4 separate regions of the Homo sapiens genome follow, and all the other regions are linked to region 1. Evidence: promoter capture Hi-C in 16 types of primary human blood cells and fetal thymus (Javierre and others, 2016). All regions are on one chromosome and are shown on one strand. Each heading gives the region's core, a stretch centred on a gene start or on the middle of the fragment in contact. The rest is flanking DNA. Distances are from core to core; before and after follow the strand shown. Region 1 holds the start of PKM (pyruvate kinase M1/2). Region 2 overlaps BBS4 (Bardet-Biedl syndrome 4). Region 3 overlaps ARIH1 (ariadne RBR E3 ubiquitin protein ligase 1). Region 4 overlaps ARIH1 (ariadne RBR E3 ubiquitin protein ligase 1).

What was found. Contacts are between HindIII fragments. The CHiCAGO score rates a contact against its expected background, and 5 or more counts as called.
Region 2: a contact is called between a fragment that was not itself captured here and the fragment with the promoter of PKM in region 1, in 1 of 17 cell types (neutrophils). The highest score is 5.5, in neutrophils.
Region 3: a fragment that was not itself captured here is called in contact with the fragment with the promoter of PKM in region 1 in 1 of 17 cell types (neutrophils); the score reaches 5.2 in neutrophils.
Region 4: a contact is called between a fragment that was not itself captured here and the fragment with the promoter of PKM in region 1, in 2 of 17 cell types (monocytes and activated CD4 T cells). The highest score is 5.2, in monocytes.

What each region holds. Positions count from the first base shown.
Region 1 is chr15:72,229,578-72,232,711 of GRCh38, reverse strand. PKM (pyruvate kinase M1/2) reads left to right here and starts at 1,522. Exons shown (of 11, transcript NM_002654.6): 1 at 1,522-1,596. RefSeq lists silencers at 1,081-1,580, 2,141-2,650. The HindIII fragment of the contact is 11,333 bases long and covers 1-3,134 here.
Region 2 is chr15:72,689,423-72,692,387 of GRCh38, reverse strand. All of the region lies in intron 1 of BBS4 (Bardet-Biedl syndrome 4), which reads right to left. Among named protein-coding and RNA genes, the nearest start is that of BBS4, 4.7 kb to the right of the region's middle. The HindIII fragment of the contact is 7,938 bases long and covers 1-2,965 here.
Region 3 is chr15:72,491,850-72,495,049 of GRCh38, reverse strand. The region is part of intron 1 of ARIH1 (ariadne RBR E3 ubiquitin protein ligase 1); the gene reads right to left. Among named protein-coding and RNA genes, the nearest start is that of ARIH1, 19 kb to the right of the region's middle. The HindIII fragment of the contact is 1,655 bases long and covers 488-2,142 here.
Region 4 is chr15:72,563,524-72,566,850 of GRCh38, reverse strand. ARIH1 (ariadne RBR E3 ubiquitin protein ligase 1) reads right to left here. Exons shown (of 14, transcript NM_005744.5): 8 at 246-288. Among named protein-coding and RNA genes, the nearest start is that of MIR630, 22 kb to the left of the region's middle. The HindIII fragment of the contact is 4,063 bases long and covers 1-3,327 here.

The sequences.
Region 1 (3,134 bases), core at 273-2,772:
AGACAATTTAGAACTTTAAAATACAATATAGTCCAGCATCGGCCAGATCCTTGCCATCCCAGTGTTGTCCACCACTGTTCTTAGTTTGTCCTCAGCTCAGGGGCCAGGGAGGGACTTTTATGCCATCCCTCTTTCTCTGATAGAGAGGAATCTAACCCTCCCTAGGGGGGCATGTCTTTTTTCCTTCTCAACAACTTCATGTTCTTTCACCACCTTAATAATCAAGCATTTCCTTCCCAACAACAACTAAAGGGACCAGGAAAGACTTACAGAAGAAAGTGAAAGATTTTTATCTCACTTCAAACAGAAATTTACTTTTAGGCTGTCACTGTCTCCTCCCAGCTTATCTGAGCTAACAGGAAGCGAATGAAGGCCTGTGATTCAGCTGCAGGCAGCGGGTATGCCTGAGCAGGTCACACCCATTTGGTCTCTTTTGCCAGGAAAATAAAAAAAGAACCTAAGAGAACGGTCTTCACATTTTGAATGCGCAACATTGTATCTGTGAATGAAGGCAAGAGTTAACAGCTGTTTAATTGATAACTGCTCGCATCATTAGTTGCTGGCTAACAACTGGGAAATCAGAAAATGTCTTGTAGAAAAATGTAAGAAAAGTTCCAACAATACTGACTTAAACACGACAAAGGTGAAAACAGAAATGCTGACTCCTGCATAGGTTATCGGCCCTAATGTTCTGACTTGATATTTCCAGATGCCCAGCTCTGCGCTAATATCAACACCGTCTATTTACTTTCTACTCTGAGGCATTCGCTCTGCAGGATTCCAGACCCTACTAAATTATTCACATGGCCCCAACCGGTCCTTCCTTGTTCCGCGGTCCTAACACAATGAATGGTCCTAAGAGGAAAACGGCCTCGCGCTCCCGCTCCAGGCCCACTTCGCAGTCCCTAGTTCTCCCTACTGCCGCTCCAGTGCCAGAGCCCCTCCGAAGGCGGCCAGGACCTCCAACCACGCACAAGTCTGCAGCTCTCCCCAACTTTCCGTTCAGCTCAGTCTCCGAGGGTGCGCCAGAGCAGACACCCGGAGGAGTGGGGAGTGGCAGGGCGGGGCCGGGAGAATGCTGCCCCGGAACCCATAAATCTGGGCCCTGCCCAGGTAGGCCGGGACAGCTGGGGTGGCCTGGGCCGAGAGCCAAGAAAAGACACCCCATCTGGCAGCCCAACTTGGCGGCAACAGGTGGCCCGGCGCCCGGGGGTCTGGGAGGAAAGTCGCTCCGGGGGCGGGCCCCGTTGCCCCGCCGCGTCCCCATTGGTCATCAGGTTTCTTAAAATGTGACTCTGAATCTGTGTCCTTCCGCCGCAGAATTTAGTCCCACCGAAAGGGCAACCTGCCCGCGCGTTCCGCCGCCGCCGCCGCGCTTCCTCCTGAAGGTGACTGCGCCCGCGGGGACGCAGGGGGCGGGGCCCGGGTCGCCCGGAGCCGGGATTGGGCAGAGGGCGGGGCGGCGGAGGGATTGCGGCGGCCCGCAGCGGGATAACCTTGAGGCTGAGGCAGTGGCTCCTTGCACAGCAGCTGCACGCGCCGTGGCTCCGGATCTCTTCGTCTTTGCAGCGTAGCCCGAGTCGGTCAGCGCCGGAGGTGAGCGGTGCAGGAGGCTACGCCATCAGTCCCCACCAAGGGCCAGTCGCCCGGCTAGTGCGGAATCCCGGCGCGCCGGCCGGCCCCGGGCACGCAGGCAGGGCGGCGCAGGATCCAGGGCGTCTGGGATGCAGTGGAGCTCAGAGAGAGGAGAACGGCTCCTCACGCCTGGGGCCTGCTCTTCAGAAGTCCCCAGCGCCGTTCCTTCCAGATCAGGCGGGTCCGCCGGCTCCTTTCCCGCCCCAGCCCTACCCCCTCATTCTGGTCCCATCCTCTTCCTCCTGCCCCAATCCTCAATGCGCCTCCATCCTCGCCTGCCTTCTCTCGGTCCCTCGTGATTGATTCCACCCTTGCTTCCCCTTTCTCCGCGCCGCCTGTTCCGTGCTCGTTTTCCCCTCTTCCTCCTTAAGTCTGGTCCTTCCACCCCCTCCTCTTCAAGCTGTGCGTGTCCCCTGATTCTAATGCTTTCTGTGTAACTCATTGAAACTGCGTTCTGGTTCCCCTCCCGCGTCCATTCTCCATTCATGCGCGACCGCCCTTCCCGCGCCCCAGTTCCCTCTCGCCGCCCCTCCCCCTGCTTGCTGGTCACGTCCGCTCCCCCGCATCCCCTTCCTCGCCTGGCGTGTCCGCTCCCTCCCTCCCTCTCTGCTCTGGTCGCGCCCGCCCACTTGCTCCGGTCTCCGAGCGCGGTCCCACCCCCCTTTTCCATCACCGCCTCCCAGCTCCCAGCAGGCTCGGGCGGTGCTGAGGCCCCGTGTCCGGGGCGGGCGGGCGGAGGGCTGGGCTGGGTGCCCCGCGCGGCGGGCGGGATGCGGCGGCCCGGGGGCAGCTGGAGACTTACGTAACGTTGGCCTGCCCCGCTGCCGGGAGGCAGGGCGGTTGCCCCTGCGGCGCGGTGCCGTCCCCTGTGGCCGGGATTAGATGGGCGGCCTGCGAGGGCCTGGGAATGGCTCGGGGCCCGAGAGCTCGACCGGCCCTTGCCGGGTGGCCGCCAGGGACCACGCTCCATCTCGCCGCGGCCGGGCTGCACGTAGCGGCCGCGCCCAGGGCCCACCCCGCTTCACCGGGCGATGGCCTTGGGCCTCGTAACGGGCGGGATAAACCTCTGCAGGCTTTGCTGGGGCCTCCTGGCCCTCGCCCGTTCCGCGCCTCTCCGGCACGTTTCTTTCTTTTCCTTTCTTTTTTCTTTCTTTTTTTTTTTTTTAATTATCCGGCACATTTTTTAACAAATGCGTCCTGATTGTGGAACGCGGAGGCCGCGGGGTGGGGTGGGGATCTGGTTACGGAGGGGGCAGGAAATCTGTCGCGTTCACTGAACGCAAACGGTGTGGGTCAAGGGCTGTTTGGGGGTCAGAGTTAGAGACCAGGATGACTAGACGAGTCATAGCCCACCGAGCTCACAATCTTAAAATGTATCTCCTGTAATGCTGGGAGTGGGGTACGAGCTTCCTGCTGTGGGAGGGAGGGGGACAGGAAGCCTCGTAAGGTCTCACCAGGTGGCAAGCACACTGGATTAGAAGATGCAGGAAAGCACCTTC
Region 2 (2,965 bases), core at 311-2,810, 460 kb before region 1:
GCCAAGATCACGCCACTGCACTCCAGCCTGGGTGACAGAGCAAGACTCTGTCTCAAAAAAAAAAAAAAAAAAAAAAAAAAAAATTGCAATGTAAATTATCACATTAAGACATAATTTCATATCCACCATGACTGGTGGCAGAAGCATAAATTGTTACAACCACCATATAGTTTCCTGTAAGTAATAAAGTTACTCCATTACCTAGCAATCTATTTCTAGGTATACCTTAGAGAAACTCTTAGATATTGCATCAGAAGACCTACATAATAATGCTCAGGGCTAGGACTAAAGTGAGGCATGTGAAGAACCTAGGGTATAAACCTTAAGAAGGTACTTACTCTTACTCCATAAAATGTGAACCCTAAGCACCTCACTTACCTTTCCTTAGTCTTGGCCATATTTATAGCAGCTTTTTTTTTTTTTTTTTTTGAGACGAAGTCTCGCTCTGCCAAGCTGAAGTGCAGTGGCACAATCTCGGCTCACTGCAACCTCCGCCTCCTGGGTTCAAGTGATTCTCCCGCCTCAGCCTCCCGAGTAGCAGGGACTACAGGCGCGCAGCACCGCATCCTGCTAATTTTTGTATTTTTAGTAGAGACGGAGTTGCACCATGTTGGCCAGGATGATCTCGATCTCTTGACCTCATGATCCGCAGCCTCGGCCTCCCAAAGTGCTAGGATTACAGGCGTAAGCCACTGCACCCAGCAGCAGCATTGTTTTTAATAACTAAAAACCAGAAATAATCCCGATCTCCATCTAGTGGAATGGATAAGTTAATTGACATACTTTACTACAATAAGATACTATACAGTGTTGAAATAATGAATAAACTGAAGGTTAATAACAAATTTTAAAAACTAATATATTAAGGATATATATAAACATATATGGTAAAACTATAAAAAGTACAAAATATTAATATAAAATTGAAGAAACACTACATCTGATGTGGAGGAAGGAAAATGCAGTAGGAGAGAGGCATTTAGGAGGTTTCAAAGTTATTAATAACCCATTTCCTAACCTGGGCAGTAGGAACACAAGTTTCCATTATATTATCCTTTAAAGCACACATACGACATTTTAAGCACTCTTTTACAGGTAGGATATATTTCACAACAACAAAAATTAATCCTCAAAATAAAAGAGAATACTTATGTGAGGCAGGCCAATTGCTTGAGTTCAGGAGTTTAAGACCAGCCTGGGCAACATGGCAAAACCCCGCCTCTACAAAATATACAAAAATTAGCCAAGCGTGGCCTGCACCTGTGGTCCCAGCTACTCGGGAGGTTGAGGTGGAAGGATCACTTGAGCCCAAATGAGGGGCTCATTTGGTTAATGATCTTGATTTAAAAATTCACAAAAATTTATAAAGACATTTCACCAAAGAGATACGGGTGGAAAATAAACATATAAAAAATCTTCAATATCATTATTCATGAAGGAAATACAAATTAAAACCACCATACACCATCACTACCCATCCACTACAACAGCTAAATAAAAACAAACTGACAAACCAAGTGTTGACAGGGATGTGGAAAAATCACAACCCTCATGCATTGCTCATGGAAATGTTAACTCGTATATAGCCTGCAGAAGTTAGGCAGATTTGTTTCTGTTTTTTTAAACAAATACTTAAACAATATAACCCAGCAATTCCATTGACACAGGAACCCTTCTGGAGTGATGGACATGTTTTAAAAGCAGCCTCTGATGACAGCTGTGCAACTATATAAATTTACTAAAACTGATCAAACTTTGTACTTAAATTGAGTAAATTTTATGGTACGTGTATTATACCTCAACAAAACTGTTTTTTAAATGTTAACTCAATTTTTTAAAATCTAACTAGAATTTCTTAACTTTGGGGAATATACTACTAAAGAATGTTAAAGACTCAAAAAGCACCTTCAAAGGTCAGCAACCCTTCTTTCTGCACAAAGCAGAATTATTTTTTTGATGAGTCTTTTACTCAAGACTTTCCAGAACATTTTGAGATGGAAAGGATTCTATTAGCCCACTCAATCTCATTCATAGGATTTATATAGAACAAATTATTTTATTCTGTTATTTCTTCATTTTTATATAGTTTTATGATCATTTATTCATCCAACAAATATTCATGGAGCACCTGATACATAGGCACTATATCTGAGCCAGATCAACTAGTGTACTAATTTCTGTTTTCTGCTCTTATCAGTTTAATCCTTCAATTTACAGGATGACATATTTATCCAAATACATCAAATAATGGGAATCAGGGCATTATAAAAAAAATTTATAGGCTGGGTACAGTGGCTCGCCTGTAATCCCAGCACTTTGGGAGGCTGAGTCGGGCGGATCACAAGGTCAGGAGATTGAAACCATCCTGGCTAACACGGTGAAACCCCGTCTCTACTAAAAATACAAAAAATTAGCTGGGCGTGGTGGCAGGCGCCTGTAGTCCCAGCTACTCCGGAGGCTCAGGCTGGAGAATGGCGTGAACCCGGGAGGCGGAGGTTGCAGTGAGCCGAGATCGCGCCACTGCGCTCCAGCCTGGGCGACAGAGCAAGACTCCGTCTCAAAATAAATAAATAAATAAATAAATAAATAAATAAATAAATAAATAAAAAGATTTATAAGCACAAATCATGAAAGCCAGAGTTAGTTGCTCATTCATTTTTTGTTTTTTTCAGACAAAGTCTCACTCTGCCCCTGCTGGAGTCCAGTGGCATGATCATGGCTCACTGGAGCCTCAACTTCCCCCAGGCTCAGATGATCCTCCCCAGTAGCTGGGAAGACAGGCGCGTGCCACCACGTCTGGCTAATTTTTGTGTTTTTTGTAGAAATGGGGCTCCAACATGTTGCCCAGACTGGTCTCAAACCTCTGGACTCAAGTTATCCTCTCACCTCAGTTTCCACAAGTCCTGGCATTACAGGCATGAGCCACCAAGTACAGCCTGTTTGCTCATTTTTTAAGAATTCTAAA
Region 3 (3,200 bases), core at 66-2,565, 260 kb before region 1:
TTACTGAGGGAATGGAGAGCAACTATTAACTATTCACCAAGTTAGTTAAATGAAAGTTGCTTAAAGCTTCAACTACACAATTACAATACTCACAGATGATGAAACAGAATTTATTAAAATCAAATTTACATACGAAGTCACAGAGCTGGTAAAAGGCAAAGCTGGAACTGAATGTGGTTCTAAATGACACCAAAGACTTAATCACTAAGTTTTTTTTTTTTTTCCTAATAATTCATCATTTCTCACGGTATCTTGAATGCCTTCCCTCCTCCATTCCAGCCTTGCTAACCCATTTCTTTCACAGGTTATTCTAATGGATTACTCACTACTCTCCCAGTTTCCTAATCCCGTCCTGTTCTCATTTATTTCCTATAGTACCAACAGAGTGGCCTTTTAAACTCTAATTCCTTATTAATTTAAAAGTTTAAAGTTGTTTCACGTAGTCCTAGTGAATTAAGTCCATCTCAACAGCACTACGCTAAAAGCTTTCATAATCTGATCACACTGCCTGTCTAGCCCCAGCTCCTACCACTCTACTTCCCAGTAATTTCAGCAATATTCAATTCCTTATTGTTCATTCAACATACCACAACTTCTTCCATTCCTCTTCCTCCTTTGTCTGGAATGCCACCTCTAACCCCATCTGCCTAGTAAGCTACCATTCATTTTTCAAAATTCAGCTTCCATTCCTACCAGCAAGTCGGTCCTCCCAGAGAAGAGCATTAAATATTCCTTCTCGACCTTATGCTTCTACTATGAAACAAAGCGTCGCATTATAATTTATTTATACATTATTTCTTAAAGAGTTGTCCATTATCTGTATTCCCCCAGCAGTGTGGCAGCTAAAGAAATCTCAGCTGATAAAAATAAATCAAGTACTCAATTTACAAATGGTTCCCAATTAAACTGAAGCATTATATTTAGGGACCCACTAACCTCAGAAATTCATAAACTATAACACGATTATTTAGGATCTTATAAGAAATATAAAAATCAGGTTAGGGAAGGGTTCTGCATTTATGAGAAAAGTACTAAGACATCAATAATACTGTGAGGGAGGGAACCACGTAGTTGAGGTATAAAGGCAGATATATATGTTTTTTTTAAATCTTTTGTGCTTTTTGAATTTGAACCAAGAAAATATATGTATGCACAAACAATAAAAAATTTAAAATCCTTTAAAAAAGTTTATAAACAGTCACTCTTAGCATACTAAGACTGTTTTAACTTTTTAAAAAAAATCTGAGGTTATGGAGAAAAGCTCAGTATACATCTTATTTCTATATTTTGTTTTGTACATAGAATGAAGAAAAACCTGATTCACAAAGATAAGTTTGCAATGCAATTTCAATATTCTTTGCTCAAAATGATCTAGAATCTTTAAAAAGGTAGTAGAAAACATTCTACTCAGAGCTAACTAGTTAACTGTCTAGAAAGTGCTTTTATTTTTGTAAATTCTGAGTCGGAGGAAATATACAGAACCCAAAACTATTAATATAGTAATATCAAGATGAATTATTCATTCGTTACTGCAAAACCCACCAACCCTTCAGTATCTGCAATGAGGGTATGAACAAACAGATCTGCCTGATATTTATTTAATTGAGCAGGGTGCACATGTGCTGCTGTAGTGTTCTACCTTATGTAAACTTTGCCTGAACAGACATGCACAGGCCTCAATCCAAAATACCAGTGCAGAATAATCTTTCTAATCAACAATCCATAAGAAGTAAACCCAGAATAAGCAGCAGCTTTATTCTGGGTTCTGACCTCCCCCCCCAAAAAGTGTTAGTCTGGATTAGGTTATTGCACTGCTAGTCTCCAATATGTTAAATAAGTCTTTAAAATTATAGAATCGCTATCATGAGAAGGGTTAGAACCAGGTAGGTTCAGGTAAAAAGCTACAGGAAGACAAAATCAGAGTATGAAAGAACTCTAAATCAGAGGTCTTCTGGAAGTGGCTGTGAAGGTTTAGCCAGAGTAGACATTTAAGAATAGTCTACAGGACCACTTACCAGGGAGGTAGTACTTGATATGTGGTTGGCTAGGATAACCATTAGGATCCTTCCAACCTTGTTAATTTGACTCTACATGAATCAAAAACTGTGTTGACAGTGGTATGAATCAAAGATTAGGCAAGCTTACTGCCATCCTTAAATCTTCAAATATTGCTTAATGTTATACTTTCATTCCTAAGGGTGACTAGAATACTTCTGTATATTTAAAAGTCCTATTTTCACCACTTTGGCTTTATAGCTGGGTGGAATGCAACATTATAATCAAGCTTCATACATTATCATATATCCTAAGGACCCAGCTATTATATTAATGCAATACAATTAGAGATGATTATTAAAAACAGACAACATTTTTAGGGCCAATGAAATGTAATTACTACATTTAAAAATTCTGTAACAAATCAGTGACTAAAATTATGTACATACGTTTCCAAATTTCAAAGGAACATTTCCAAATTAAATGACAAGTAATTTGAGGCCCACTCCCTAAGTTTTCCCCTTCATAAGAGGTGAAGTGGTGAACAGGTTAAAAAGTAAACATATTTTCTCACATTTGAAGTTAAACGGCATTAGTAATAAGCTCACCTGAGAACTTTACTAAAGAACTATTTTCTCATTACCGAGCAAAATAAACTGGCTCTTCTCCCTTTAAAGCAAGCATTTGTTATCTAGTGCCTCCATAACAGTTTCACGGTGCTATTCTTCCAGAATCTCTTGGTGCTTCTTTCAGAAGAATGCTGGGCTTTTTGGACCACTAGTCTAAGTTTGTAACTTCATACATAAATAACGAACAAATTTTATATAATATATATGTATTCTATTACTTTGGTCGAGAATTATTTTTTATTAAACTTTGTGTTTTTAAATGCTTAGAGTAGAAAACAGTAAATATAACAGCAATTTTGGCTTGATATTTTCTTGAGGATGGTACATATGTAAGCTGTAAAGTCTTAAATGGGGTATGTAGTAGACTTCTGACTCTATTCCACTCTTAGTCATTTATTTGGATTCAGAGGCCACAGCAATGAAGTCACAAGTCAGAGCCCATTGACTCAGCCTGTATAAGTCAGTCTTCTGGAGCACAGCAGGATGGAAAAAGGTAGAAGAGTTCCGCAGAGGCAAACAGAAAATACCCAGCACACACAACAATAACATTCACACGTTTGTGTATATTTAATGATA
Region 4 (3,327 bases), core at 612-3,111, 330 kb before region 1:
GTATTCCCCTAATTACAAAGCCTGACAAAGAGGTGCCTTAGCCATGGTTATCCTAATAACAATCAGGAGCTGACTTGGCTTATCCTAAGGAATTACCTCTGAATACATGTAATGATCATCTGAAATTAAAAGGATAAAAAAAAATCTATCAATAGATAGATAACAAAATCATCAGCTATGATTTTTAGTCACTAAGTCTTAGAAGTGTGCCATTATTTAAAAATTGAAATGTCAGACAAACTCACCTTACATTTAACAGGATCATGCCAATTTTCTCCACAGTTAAAGCTGTTAAGTGACACAAAGAGTTAATAGAATTAAGGCCTACCTACTGTAAGCAAGTAAATAAGCCAATCATTTCATGCCTTATAGTTCCACAGTATTGTCACTAGTTTCTAGTGACTGGCAAATACAAGGAGAGAACCCATGTCTGCTTTACAGTTAATTACCTAGAATTTAGTAGTAGAACTAGCACATAGTGGGTACTCAATATGTGTGAAGAATGACTATAAGCATGAAGACACGCTTTGATGACAATTTCATAATAATTGTTGCTAAGGTGCCTCAGACTATATTGAGAAGTTTCAACCCATGCTTCATCAGTGCATTTTTAATCTTTTACTTAACACCCTAAATGAAGAATAAAAGGCTGACTTTGTAGGTTACTTATATAATTTAGTACTAATACACAGTAAACAATATATGGGAAGCAAATAGGTCACATCTTTGCATTATTTAAACAAATGAACCTCCGCCCTGTAGAGGGAAATGGTACTGGGCAAGGTATAAAACAAAAAGACTAAATACTCACTAAACATGTGTTAATCAGTAATTCACTTTTGTTTTCTAAGTTCATGACATATACACTTGTAAAAGAAGTATAATTAACAAACACAAATGCTTAAGAAAAAAATAATAAAATGACAGATTAATTAGCTAATTAAGTAATTTACGAATGGCAAAAAGTCCTTTGCTAAAGACAGAAACAAACTACTATTGATTTAAATCAGGTTAAGATAAATGGTTATTTCTGAAAAGAAAGATGGGGAATGGGAAGGAGCAGGGAACCAAGGAGCTTCAAATATATGTGTCATGTTTTATCTCTTAATGAAGAAAAACAAAATACTAATTTTGATTTAACTGGATTGTAGCTATATAGGTATTCACTGCTGTATTCTCTATACTTTTATGTTTGAAATGTGTCACGCTAAAAATACATTGGAAAGTAGGTATTATCCACCTTTTCTCTAAAATAACAATACATAATTAATCTTTATCGAAACAGTATGTATTTTACACATACTTAATCTCTGTGAGCTTACCTGCTCTTTTTGGAAATATTTATTATTAATGATGTGTTAAGTGTAATTCTATAGATGTTTGGAGGAAAAAAAGAAAGGTATGGAATACCAATAAAATATTTCCCCCTCCAAACCACCCCGCAGCAAAAAAGAAAATCTGGCTGGCCATGGTGCTTCTCACCTGTAATCCCAGCACTTAGGGAGGGCCGAGGCAGGTGGATTACTTGAGGCCAGGAGTTCAAGACCAGCCTGGCCAACAAGGTGAAATGCTGTCTCTATTAAAAATAAATACATAAATAAATAAACAAATAAATAAATAAATAAAAATTAGCCAGGCGTGGTGGCACACGCCTGTAATCCCAGCTACTCAAGAGGCACAAGAATCACTTGAACCTGAGAAGCAAAGGTTACAGTGCGAGATCGTGCCACTGCACTCCAGCCTGGGTGATGGAGTGAGACCCTCTCTCAAAACAAAACAAAACAAAAAATCTATTTGCTGGGTCTAGAGCCCCTTGACTTGATTGGCTTCTTACTCCTCAAGACCCTCAAAGGAACAGAAAATCATCTTAACTTCTAGCAGGATATAAATGTTTGTGTCCCCCTAAAATGTGTATGTTAAAACTTAATAACCAATGTGACAGTATTAGGATGTGGAGCCTTTAGGAGGTGAATGGAATTGGCATCCTTTTTAAAAAAAAAAGGGGCCCAGAGAGCTGCCTTGTCCTTTCCACCATATGAGGACCCAGCAAGTAGGCACCATCTATGAACCAGAAAAGCAGGCCCTCGCCAGACAACAAATCTTTTGGCACCTTGATCTTGGACTTCTCACCCTTAAGAACTGTAAGAAATAAATTTATGTTGTTTAGAAGCCGCCCAGTTTATGGTCTTTTGTTATAAAAGCCTGAACATTAAGACAGAAAATGGTACCAAGAAGTGAGGGTGCTGTTCTAACAAAACCAAAAATGTGAAAGCCGATTTGAAACTAGGTAGTAAGTAGAGGCTGGAAGAGCTTGGAAGTGCAAGCTAGAAAAAGCCTAGATCACTGTGAATGAACTGAATTGTTAAGGGTAATTCTGGTGAGGATTCAGAAAGACAGAAGTGCAGGGAATGCCTCAATCATAGAGAAAACCTAAATAAATGGCCATGAACAGAATGTTGTTAGAAATATGGACAGTAAAGGCCATTATGATGAGGTCTCAGATGAAAATGAGGAACATGCTGTTAGAAACTAGAGGAAAGGCCATCCTTGCTATAAAGTGGCAAAGAAGTTGGCTGAATTGTTTTGTGGAAGGTAGAGAAATGAAACTGAATATCTGGTTGAGGAAATTACTAAGCAAAGTGTTGAAGACGCAGCTTAGCTTCTCTTGAATGTTTATAGAAAATGCAAGAAGAGATGAATGACCTAGAGATAAACTGTTCATCAAAAGGAAATAAGAAGTCAAAAATTTGAAAAATTTTCAGCCTATCCACTTTGGAAAAAACTAGAACACCTATAAAGGAGCCTGAACTGATTAAGACATCCCCTAATATGTGGCACTGGAAACTTCCTGGCAGTTCAAATCTAGAATTCAGAGGCTGAAGAGTATACTATAGAACTCCAAAAGCCCAAGTTACCAAGAAAGCTGGGCGAGAGGAGCCACAGGAAAACTCTTAGTTAAAAAGGAGACCATCAGCAGAATTTACCTGCACATTTCCTTTGCATAAGTAAGGTTAAAATTTGGCAGAGTAAAGAAAAACGTATAGTCCCAGATCTACAAGTTTGCTCCCATTAAGTTACAGTGGAGCATACAGGAAGATATGATTAGAGTTGTATATTTTCTCCATAAAAAAAAATTCAAAAAAGTTAGAACATCAAGGAAAGAGGAAAAATTTTTTTAAGATGTGACCTTTTCATTCAATTCTGAAAGAGATATATACTATTTTAAACCAGTATCAAACATCTCCCTGCCTAAGGTAAACACTTTTTTTCTGCTATTTTACTACCAAGAATAAACAGGAGAAATGGAAACGCTTTGTGCACTATTTC